Regions from separate parts of the Homo sapiens genome. Here region 2 is linked to region 1. The links are contacts of gene promoters, found by promoter capture Hi-C in human tissues and cell types (Jung and others, 2019). All regions are on one chromosome and are shown on one strand. Each heading gives the region's core, a stretch centred on a gene start or on the middle of the fragment in contact. The rest is flanking DNA. Distances are from core to core; before and after follow the strand shown. Region 1 holds the start of RAB38 (RAB38, member RAS oncogene family). Region 2 overlaps GRM5 (glutamate metabotropic receptor 5).

Region 1 (5,585 bases), core at 26-2,525:
CCCTATCTAAAAGGCAAACCCCATATAATCTCTTCACATCCCCTTTCTGCCTTATTTTATTACCAATTAATATATGACAAATTGTATTTATTTTGTCTTGTCCTGTCTCCACCCACAAGAAGGTAAATTTTTCTTAGGCCAGTAGGCATTGTCTGCGTTAGGAGGATGATACAGAAATCCTAACGCAGACAATGCCTACTGGCCTCAAAAAAATTTACCTTCTTGTAGGTGGAGACAGACAAGACAAAATAAGTACAATTTGTCATATATTAATTGGTAATAAAATGTATATTGGTCAAATGAATGAAAACAAACAACAAAAACAACAAAAAGAAGTTGGGAACCTAAAGACCTATGTTTGAATTTGGTTTTTTTCCTTACTATTTGACTCTGGGTCCATTACTTAAAATGTCTGGTCCTTAGCTTCCTCATTTGTAAAATAGGAAGAAAAATGGTATCTATTATTAAGACAGCTGGGATGACTAAATGACATAATTTATAAACCCTCTGGCATATAGCGAGTGCTCAATAAATGTTTGCCATTATTATTATTTGTAATAATCTGACCGATTGTTAAAACTGTCTTTCTGTGCAGCTCTGAGTTTTTAGGATATGGGAAGAGGCTAAAAGTCACCAGTGCCCTTGGCATTTTCGGCCCAGTTGTCCTCCTTGTTAACTGATTACCAGTTGAATGGGTGTGAAAGTGCTCAGTGTTCCCACCTCCAAGCTGCTCAGAGGTCAGCATTGCCATTCATTGAGAAATAACAGGCTGTGAGAGCTCAAATGACTTACTTATGGTCCCTCAACTTAAAAACCAGGGCACGCAGGAACCAAGCCCAGCCAGTCTTGGGCTTCCTAATACTGTAATTTCTCTCTACAGTGTGGGGTAGTTAAGAGCCTGTGACTTCAGACCTGTGGTCAACGGGGCCTTTCACCGGCCATCTCCCGCAGAGTACTTTTTCACAATCAGTTTTCTCGCAAGCAAAACGTGGAAAATAAGATCCACACCTCACAAGTTTGTGGCCAGGGTCACAGGTGAAAACAGCTCTTCGGAAACTCTAAAGCGCCGGATAAATAAGCGCTGCAACAGGCAACCACACGCGAACCCCTTTCAGCTGCCAGTCCCGGGACTCGCTCCTGTCTCCTCCCCTCTCCAAGACCGCGGAGTAGGAAGGAGGATTAACCCCTAGGGGAGGAGTTCCGCCCCCCAGCCCCCGCCCCGCCGCCCACGCCTCTCTCTGCACCTACACTTGCGCTCCCCAAGTCTCTCTCGTGCGCAGAGCCCAGGCTGCGCTTCCCTGGTCAGGCACGGCACGTCTGGCCGGCCGCCAGGATGCAGGCCCCGCACAAGGAGCACCTGTACAAGTTGCTGGTGATTGGCGACCTGGGCGTGGGGAAGACCAGTATCATCAAGCGCTACGTGCACCAGAACTTCTCTTCGCACTACCGGGCCACAATCGGCGTGGACTTCGCGCTCAAGGTGCTCCACTGGGACCCGGAGACTGTGGTGCGCCTGCAGCTCTGGGATATCGCAGGTGAGCGCGGGGGGAGGGGGTCAGGGGGATAGAGCGCCTCGCGGCCGGTTTCCAGTCTCGAGGCAGCGGCTTGCGGCCAAGCGTGAGATTAAAATCACTAGGTCGCGAGGCAGTTTTTCCTGGTGGGCTGGAAACTTAGTTTCAAAGAAAAGAAAAACGTCTGAAACTTCAAGTGCATTCCCTGGCGCTTTTGGGCTATTGCTTTAGCTCCTTCCCGCACAGTCCCCTGGGATCTCTCTGCCCAGAGCAGGCCTCCCCAGGGAACCAGAGGAAGATTGTCTGCAATTGCATTCTGTTCTCCACTCCAGCTCGTTTTCTGGGCGCGGGCAGTTCTGCCAATGACGCAGCCCAGTGTCACGCACGTCCTTCCGTGCAGGGGCGGACCGAGGGGAAGCCCCTAGGCTGGTTCACAGAGGAAACCGGGATAGTTCCAGGCTAGCTGGAGTTTGCCCATTCCTGTCTTCAGTGGCTCACTTTATTTCAAATTTTGTCACCTTTCTCTCTGCCCTTAAGACAAAGGAGTTTGAGGGTTTTTGTTTTGTTTTTTTTTTTTTTTTTTTTTGCTTTTTGCTTACAGTAAGCCAAGTACTTTTGTGTGTATATGTCAGGGGCAAAGTATTCTTTCTCCCTCTCTTTCTGTATTTCTATCTCTCTGGCTCTCTGTCTTCTATGAAAAGGAGGTTGTGTGTATATTTTAAGGCCATTTTTATGTAAGGGCCTATGATAGCCTTATGATTTCTTGATTTGGCCCTAAAGTTTTCATTGAGAGATCTGAAAAATGAGAGGTTGTTTGTTTTTGTTTTTTACAATATTTAAAATCAGATTTTGACTCCACAGGTTTGTACCAGAAGTTAGGCCTAGTCAAAAGTGAGGGTGCAATGTATCTACTCCAAGTGTGAATCCTTGGACAAGGCTGTTTGCAACCTGCGCATGACCAACCCCTCATTACAGATTTTAGCCCTGCCACTAACTAACCTGCTCAGTGGCTTTGGACAAGTCTCTTCAGCTCAGTTGCATCGCTGTTAAGTGGAAAGGAGTTGGGCAAGGGTCAAGGATCTTCCTGCTCAGAAGTTTTAAAGTCCTCTGGGATTCTCCATGGGAACAACTTCAAACAGTCTTATTTCATGGTCTGTGACACCAGGAACCTTTCGTTATAAGTGCTGGACCCAAACTAGCCACTTCTGTTTCAGAAAATGGATTCATTTTAGCTGATGCATTTGATTGGAAACTCTTTATCATGGCTTGAAACTAGAACAAATGTGGAAAATTTTTGAAAGGGCATTTGTGATCTGGGGACTTTCGTGCCTCTTTAATCATGAACTGCCAGGCCTTTTTCTTTTAGCATGTGAACAGATGAACAGATTCATGCATTTGGAGTCATCTTCAGCTGCTCTAGTAGCAAGGGGGTTATCAGAGAACAGAAAATGTTATCAGCCACTGTTGGATGGGGCTTTTCATCTAAAAAAATTCTCTCTGTGTACTTTCTTGCTGCATGTCATAATGTCTGAAAACCCTTCTGGCTGCTCGAAAGTCCTCAGGATTCAGATTTAGAAACGGCTTACTGTTTAAACGGGGATGTAGCTGTAATTTGGACTTCTGTGTACAATCCAGGTAACAGCATGACAGCAGAGAAGTTCTATGTCTGTAGATTTCAGTCTCCTCACATAAACAGAAGAGATGGAAGGGTACAGTGATTAATAGCCCAAATTCCAGAGTTGAACTGCCTCCATCTGGATCCTTACTTTACTCTGCATGTAGTAGGCAATCTTAGGTAAGTTCTCTAACCTCCTTGTTTTGGTTTCCTTACTTGTAAACAGGGAGAATGCTTTCTCCCAATAGATGACAGGTGAGCAACCAACAGTGCTAGCTGAAGGTGATCATGCCTGTTCTCTAGGAGATCTGCAAGGATTATTATCACACTAGCTACCATTTTTTTAAGCCTATATAAATGCTAGGCAAGAAGGATATGATATACAAGTGCTTATTAATTCCTAATAAATTGTGATCCCAATATTACATATATATTTTGTCCCCAAGTTATCACCATTTTCAGCTTTGCTCCTGACATACTCTCAGGAGCAATTTAACTCCCAAGCTCGAAAGCACTTCGTTAGCCATGTTTTGTAGACTGAAGTTGCAGTGGAGGCTGTAGTCACAGAAGTCTGTATAAATAAGAAATCTGAAGTCTTGGGAAGTTCATTCTACAGATACTGCGGTGGTGTTACATTCAACATCTCAGTAGAGGAGCTTGTTTTTCCCAGAGCTCTAATGCTCAGTGGTAACCTGTCTTTAGCAGCCTTAAGCCCAAAGGCCCTGTTAGCTGAATTATAGATTGGACAGCAGGCACAGTGAATTGGGTGAAAGCTAGGCCACTGTAGGAAATGGTTGGAACATGCACGTGCTCCATGTTTCATGGTTTAAGCTGCATAGGGAGCCATGTGGGTTATGAGTTCATGTGAAATACAACCTCAACTGCCCACCCAGACTCCAGTCAGCCAGGTGTACCTTATAGTACTTTCAAATCACAGCCTGTCTGTCCACAGATAAGAATGCATCTCTCCGTCCTTAGTGTTCAACTCTGGTGTGTCCCCGGAGAGAGCAGGTAGTGGAGGTTAGTGGGCCTAGCTTTGAGAAGGTTGTGGGTGTTCAATGAGATAGAGAAGACCTGCACTGTTCTGATAGGATATCATATACATTTGTTATTAAGGGAATCTTGGCTCAGCTAGACTCTTGATACTCATTTGGTTCAATGCCAAATAGGGCCCTTTTTAATCTACTAAATTCCCATGATGTGTCTCTTATAGCCATGTAGATTGGCCAGTCTGATCTTGAAAGACTCCAAAAAGTATCTCTGGGGTCTTGTGAAGTAGGCCTTGAAACAAGATGATAAATCCCACCAAACCCCATAGGGGACAGCAGTTGGCCTGGATTCCAGTGATTCCATGCTAGAAGGTCAGCTGTGTGTTCAGAGGCTCCTGATAGAGTCAAAGAAATGAAGTAACTTTGCCTGAGGCCACCCAGCTAGTAGAGGAAGAGCCAGATTTGACCCGGTTCCGTTTCACTCAGAGTCAAGCCTTGCTGTTTGCACTTGCTGGCCTGTGAGTGCCTGGCACACAGCTGGCCCACAGGGATTATGCCTTCTTTTTAAAGGTGTTGTTTCATTAGTAGGTGGGTTAAACTTACCTTCTCCTTTCTAACTGGATTTTTGGTATTATTAAGTACCACTGTGCATTCAGTGAAAAGGAATGAATTAAAATCTATTTCTGAAAATTTTATCTTGATTAGGATGTGAATTTATAGAGTTTTTAAAAAAATAGGTCATTTAGGGAAAATGAAAACAAAAAGTTCACACTTGAGACTCCACTTTTTTATTACTCTCCAAATCCAGAGACTATAATTGCTCATTCACCCTTTCAAAAAGAACTGTACTATCTTGTCTAGAACTCTTGATGTGCTTTGGGACTCTGATCTAGGCATTGGGACATTTATAGGGATAGTAGCTAATATTTCTTAAGCCCTTATTCTTATGAATGTCCAGGCATATTTAATCTATAATTTCCCAGTATAATAGCTGGTTAGGCCACTAGAATTTAAAATTGACCATTGAATCTGTTTTCAAAAGATTTGCTCTACTGTCCTTAATTTGAAAACAGAGCACTTCAGACATAGTTTAAATATATTCTAAATTTAGATACTCTGAAAATATAATTAGGCAAACTGTGAAACCTTGCTGAACCTCAATTGCCTCATCTATAAAATGATGATTATTTAATTTTCCTGTGATACTTATTTTATCTTTTGTAGTCTCTGTAAGCAAAAGGTTTATTATCACTGTCCTCAGGGTATAGGTAGCACATGGTCATTTATTCCAGCTTCTTTACTTACTAGCTTTGTGACTTGTGTGAGTTACTTAGCCTCTGTGCCTTCGTTTTCTGTCTGTAAAATGGGAATAATAACAATACCTGCATCTTAGTATTTTTGTAAGAATTAAATGAGTTAATTTATGCAAAGCTGTGCCTGACACATAATAAATGCTGAATGAGTGTTAGC
Region 2 (5,888 bases), core at 1,425-3,924, 630 kb before region 1:
TTAATATTGAATGTAGGTTATCATTTCAATATTGTACCCTTCAGACTTATAAAACAGAACTTCCGAAGCAAGGGAAATTAACTTCACCTTCCTTTTGTAACCACTTGAAGGCAGAAACATTAACAATATCACCAAAGTGGCCCAAAGTGTACTCGTTTAATATGAGTCTTACATAACTGACCTAATTCTACCCTCTACGCTGCAGAGAAAAGCCTTTTTTGGGAAGAGTATGTCATTTCTGGCTGTTATCACTGATAGGTGCTGTAAATTTGTACCACTGAGCTCTGGGTAAGTTGGCGCATGGTACCCCTGGAAGAGGATATGCATTGGATCTGGAAGGGGCAGGGTGTGATTGGAGAGGGAAGGAAATCACCATATATTGTGTGCCTGTGGTATGCTTTATGTAAGATATCTCACTTAATACATAAAACAGTACATAATTTTGTATCATTACTTCTCATCTTGTCATACATATAGTTTGTCCTATAGGTATTAAATTATAGAGACCGTTCTCCCTAATTTTGAGAATTCATTCTACTTTCATTCTACAGAGTGAGCCCAATCTGCAAAAATGCTCTAAGGCTGATATCAGACCAAAAAGCAAATGTTCTTCTCTACTTCTAAGAGAGACCTGCTGGAATATTTTCTTCTTTCTGTATCTAAAAGAACCCAGGGTCATAATTTTTCTACAGCACAGAATAGTAGAGAATACTGTGGATTCTACAACAGGTCTTTGTTATAAAATATTCAAACTGAGTTTCTGTTTCCTGGTTCAGATTCCCAAAGTCCTTGTTTCCTTATATTTTAGATTTCATATCCCGCTTTTAATGCTCTGTATCTTTTTTCTCCAAACTGTCACAAAGTCTATCAAAATGTGTTCAGAATGTTTTCCAAAAAAAATCTTCTGTTATTTGTCCTCAAAGGCACCAGCTTAGTCTCTGTCCTGCTGGAAACACGTATTTGAATACTTGAATTGTTGTCCTTCTAAGTGATCCACCCCCCAGTGTTGTTAAGGCATAGCATCTTGAGAATGGAAAAAAAACAAAAAAAGGTGTTTCTAGAATAATGGCTTTTCCATAGGAGGGAACTTAGAATATTAGAGCTGAGATAATCTTTGCCCAAAACTTATCTAATAGAATCTTTATACTTTTTCTCTGAGATAGTCTTGTTCCCGTTTTACAGATGAATAAACTCTGTTAACTTGTTAATAGCACAACCAGATTTCCTAATTCCAGTTCTGTTTCTCTTAAGTTGTGACATAGTTTTTTGAACTCTTTGAGCACAAGGAGACTATCTGCCAATATTGACTTCCTCTTTGGACATAGATGGCAATAAATAGATTAAACAAAACTCTTTTTTATTCAATGATCCTGGTTGGCATTGGTCATCTTCATACTGACATACATATTTATACTTCACAATTAATTTAACTTTGAATATTTAATATGATAAAATATCAATGACTGACACAAATACAGCTTCTCAGTAAAAGCTGTTTCCCTTCCTCCTATGCTGCATGTTTGTAGGAGCAACGAACAGGATTCATTCTGCCTGTTTATGCCTTCTTCAGGATGCTTACTCTAACAGCTCCCTGACCGATCTTCAGTATCTACTCTCTTCCTAATTTAATCCCTGTCTTGCTGGGCCCCACCATACCTTGCTAATCTTATATATGAGCATTTACTTTTTTCTCAGCTGTTTCTTCATGTAATATTTGTGTAGCTACAGATGTTTGTACAGAATTGATATTTGAAAAGGACTCATTCCCATGTTTTATTTTTACTAATGCCACCAGAGACTAATCCTCTTTTATTCCTCTTCATATACTCATTTTTCAAGAGCCAGCCCAAGTTTTTTTAACCAAAGCTTTACTCAGCTATCCAAACCTAATTATTACTGGCTTTTATGGATCTCAGTGTTACTGCCATACATAGCACCCTTCCATTATCTCAAACTTGCTAATCTAGGCTGCAGTTTTTCCAAACCATTTTACTCTTCAGTCTTTCTCATACTTGGGGCCTAATCTCCAATAATGAAAGTCATCATATTAGATGCATAATCAAAGCACAGAGGTCCTACTGTAACAGCTTTCCCAGTTCCTGTCCTCAGTAGTAGAGGCCTCTCTAGCCTTTATTTCTTATAAAGGAAAGTCCCTGAGTAGGGCAGTTAGATAAAATACAAGACACACAATTAAATTCAAATATCAGGTTTAAGAAACACATTTGTTTAGTATCAGCTATCCCTAAGATTGCATGGGATATATTTATGCTAAATTAACTAGTTTTCTAAAATTCAAATTTAACAGATATTTGATATTTTTATTTGCTAAATCTGGCAACCATATTCCTGAAGAATCTCCTCAACTTTTTTTTTTTGACATATTAACTGCATTATACCTGGTCTCAGTTCATCTTGATTGAATGTCCCTATATGATGTCATATCTTACATGTCTTTAATGCTGCCTTGTTTTCAAAGTACATATATTATTTTATTTCTTTCCCCAAATTGCCCAAGTGTATGTTTATTATCTTTACCAGTCATTAACTTGGTTGTTTAATATCACTGGGTTTCCATTTTCTAGAATATAGCAAAGTTAATCATGCCTACTTTGATGAACAGTAAAAATAATAATCTTTACAAAGATTAAATGAGATGAACTACATAAAGCAAAGTGCCTGGCTGACCAAAGGAAACAAATGACCAAATGAATCTATATAACCTCTACACTCCTCTGCCACCATCCTAATTGGCTTGCTTAAGATTGAAAAGCCAATATATGATGAAGCTGAGAGCTTAAACTTGAATAAACTGGCTACAGTTAAGAGCTTATTAGAATAAGCCTCTAACTTGCCCCTTAGAGGGGAAAGAAGTCTGATGAAACATAAGAAAATACAGTGACTTATCACCTCCTCTCCTCCAGCTGGATATTTCCCTCTCTCCACGATGAGATTATTTTTCAATTAATTCCTCCCTTATAAGAAATATATGAGATAATGCTTTGTTCTTAATTTGAATCAGTTGCTCTATGCTTTTTCTCAGTAACTTGTGAATTAAAAAAGAAATAAAATGCTTTTAAAGAGTCTAAGGTTAAACTAATTAACAGTCTCCAAACAGAAACAAACACGTTGTTAAAAGATAAAGGAAGTGGATTGTTAGATTCTGTCTATTCTTCCCCATGGATATACAAGGATGTTAATTAGTGGAACATGGATGCCGATAAATGCCAAACAATTATTTCTCATAAATCTTTGTGAAATGTGAAAAATAAAAATATATCCTGGGAAGCAGAATTAATTCATGTTAAGGGATCATATTTCGAGGTACATTATTAGTATTCATGAACATGGAACGAGCAGAATTCAGAGATTTCTGCCAAGCCAGGAGTTCATCTAGGAAGACTAAGAGATTGAAAAAGAGAAGCTGTTAAGGTAGCTAATTTTGATGCCATTTTTATTATCTTTCTTGCAATAATATTTTACATTCCAATATAACATGATGACACTGAGAAGTGTCATATGTTATGGTCACTATGTTACAATGTGGCTTTGAGAAATTCTCACCTCTTAATAATGTCTGTGGAAATATACTTTTTCACTTCACTAAAGTGGTTTTTCACAAATCCATGCTATTTAACTATAAAGATCCATGCCATTCTCTGCTTATCTGTTCCTGTATAGTGGAAACATTAAAAATGATAATCTAAATGCAAACACATTGTTTAATATTCTTTCTATTTATTTATCTGACCATCTGTAAATTATTTTAACTATACAGTTTACATGGTAAATACATACCCTGCATGCTGCAACTAAAATTCTATGGCTGTAAAGTACATATATACAGTATCTAAGGACAGCCAGATTTTCTTATATCTTGCTATTAGAGATTAGAAAATAAAGTCATTTCAAAACTTATATTCTAGTGGAAAATTCAAATATGAGATAGCAAGTAACAAGGCTTAAATACACATGTCTGTGCATTCCATATATATACTATGTAAAATGTCTCTTCTATAAATAATTGCCAGTATGTAATATATATACCATCACATACACAATTATTGAATAGTAGATATTATATAGTAATCAGTAAACACCCTATTATAGATTAACCAGTATCTAGAAATTTATAAATGAATATTCTATGAAAACATATGCTATAAAATGTCTAATATGCCTATTTTGGGGATTAAAATTATTCTATAAATGATAACAAATACTGAGAAAGAAATGTTCTAAAGTGTTATAAAAACTACATGGCAAATGAGAAGCAGCTTGTTAATTGACTAATACGTATAACTCAGTTTCTCTTAGCACATTTTTATTCAAATTGTATAAAACATGTTATTTGAATTTTGCAATTCATTAATTTCAGATGCCTAAAAAAAAGTAGTTTATATGAAGAAAATCTGCCTGCACTCTGTTTTTTGAAACACTAAATGCAATTTGAATATCAGATCTCTCTTTTGGTGACAGACTTGCTTAACAGACTGATTACCAATGATAACTTGTAGTTAGAAGGTTTCTCAAAAAGATGGCATACCATCAATTGCTCGACTCACAGGGCCCAGCAGTAAGTGCTTACCAAGTGGGTCCTTTTCTTATTCTCCCACTGACACCAATCTAGTTTCAATCTTAATTGCTTCCCATTTGAGCAAAAGTCTCCTAACCAGTTTCTCTTTTTCTTTTCTCTTCAGATTTTAAAATAACACTCCTATTGTAGATAGGATAAGCTTTCTAAAATAAAATAAAGTGACAAGATTTTATTGAATGGACATTACAGGCTAGGGACAGAGTTGAGTCTAGTATAGGTTTGTAGGTAGGGTACAAATTCAGTAATATGCTTCATTTGAGAGGATTCCAAAGATCCCCTTTCTAAGGTTGCCTGAAGGTTTAAGACAGCTTTTAAACATTTTTTGAAATTCTGACATTTTCCACCCATTCATGTGTTCAATAAGCATTTTTTAAAACTGTCTATGTCAAGGTTTATGGCAGAAAATGCAGATATAGAGGTAAAAAGGCAATGCCTTTACCATTAAGAGATGTAGAGTCCAGTGAGAAATCCATGTCAACAGATAATTTGTACAACATAAAATAAAATGCAAATACAGCCTAGGGAAAGTAAAACCTTGTTTTGCCTGGGCAAGTTAGGGAAGACTTCACAGAAGAAGCAATATTTGAATCAAGTCTTAAAAGAAGATAATCATTGTCTTGAAGTTCTCTTTTAAAATTTAAGCAATATCTTACAGTTTAGGGGTAAAGAAATGAAGATGTGGAGAGGTAACAATACTATCTGGGGATCAATTAGTGTATTAGAACCTTAACACATTGAAAGAATACAAGTATAAAAAGATGGGGAAAGTTTCACAGGATACCAAAAAAAATCCTAAAATACTGTATGCCCACATGATTCCCAGGATGAGGGTGTTGAAGGGAATAAAAAGCACCAGAGATGAGCTTGATCTACTCCATAATTAGGTATAAATCTAGCCCCATGTAAAGTAACCTCAGTATTGTCAGCCACAGAGCTATCCTCTCTAGCATTAGTCAATTCTTGAAAGCTAGTTATTTTCACAGTTGAGATCAACTGCCTAAAATATTCTATATTACTTTCTTGCCTCTAGAACTTGATTAACTATAGGCAGAAACCAAAGGAATTCGAACTCATTTGTTAATAATTAAATTGACCATTAAAATTGATGATTAATGGAATAATTAAAATGAATTAAGTCAATGTTGAAACATCTAGTGTATTTCTTCCAGAGGATTTAAAATAAAAAGAACACACCATATCTTTAATAAATTCTTGCAAATAAATGATTGAGAATTCCTGGAATTTCTGAAACTACAGACTGTGAAATTTATGGATCATTTTAGAAAAACAGACA

The links. Contacts are between HindIII fragments. The study calls those that stand out against the background at their distance.
Region 2: a contact is called between a fragment that was not itself captured here and the fragment with the promoter of RAB38 in region 1, in 1 of the 25 tissues and cell types used here (lymphoblastoid cells).

Annotation. Positions count from the first base shown.
Region 1 is chr11:88,171,133-88,176,717 of GRCh38, reverse strand. It overlaps RAB38 (RAB38, member RAS oncogene family), which reads left to right and starts at 1,275. Exons shown (of 3, transcript NM_022337.3): 1 at 1,275-1,535. The coding sequence starts at 1,334. It overlaps MIR3166 (microRNA 3166), which reads right to left and starts at 216; the gene lies at 125-216. The HindIII fragment of the contact is 10,731 bases long and covers 1-5,585 here.
Region 2 is chr11:88,806,257-88,812,144 of GRCh38, reverse strand. All of the region lies in intron 3 of GRM5 (glutamate metabotropic receptor 5), which reads left to right. Among named protein-coding and RNA genes, the nearest start is that of GRM5, 260 kb to the left of the region's middle. The HindIII fragment of the contact is 6,526 bases long and covers 1-5,888 here.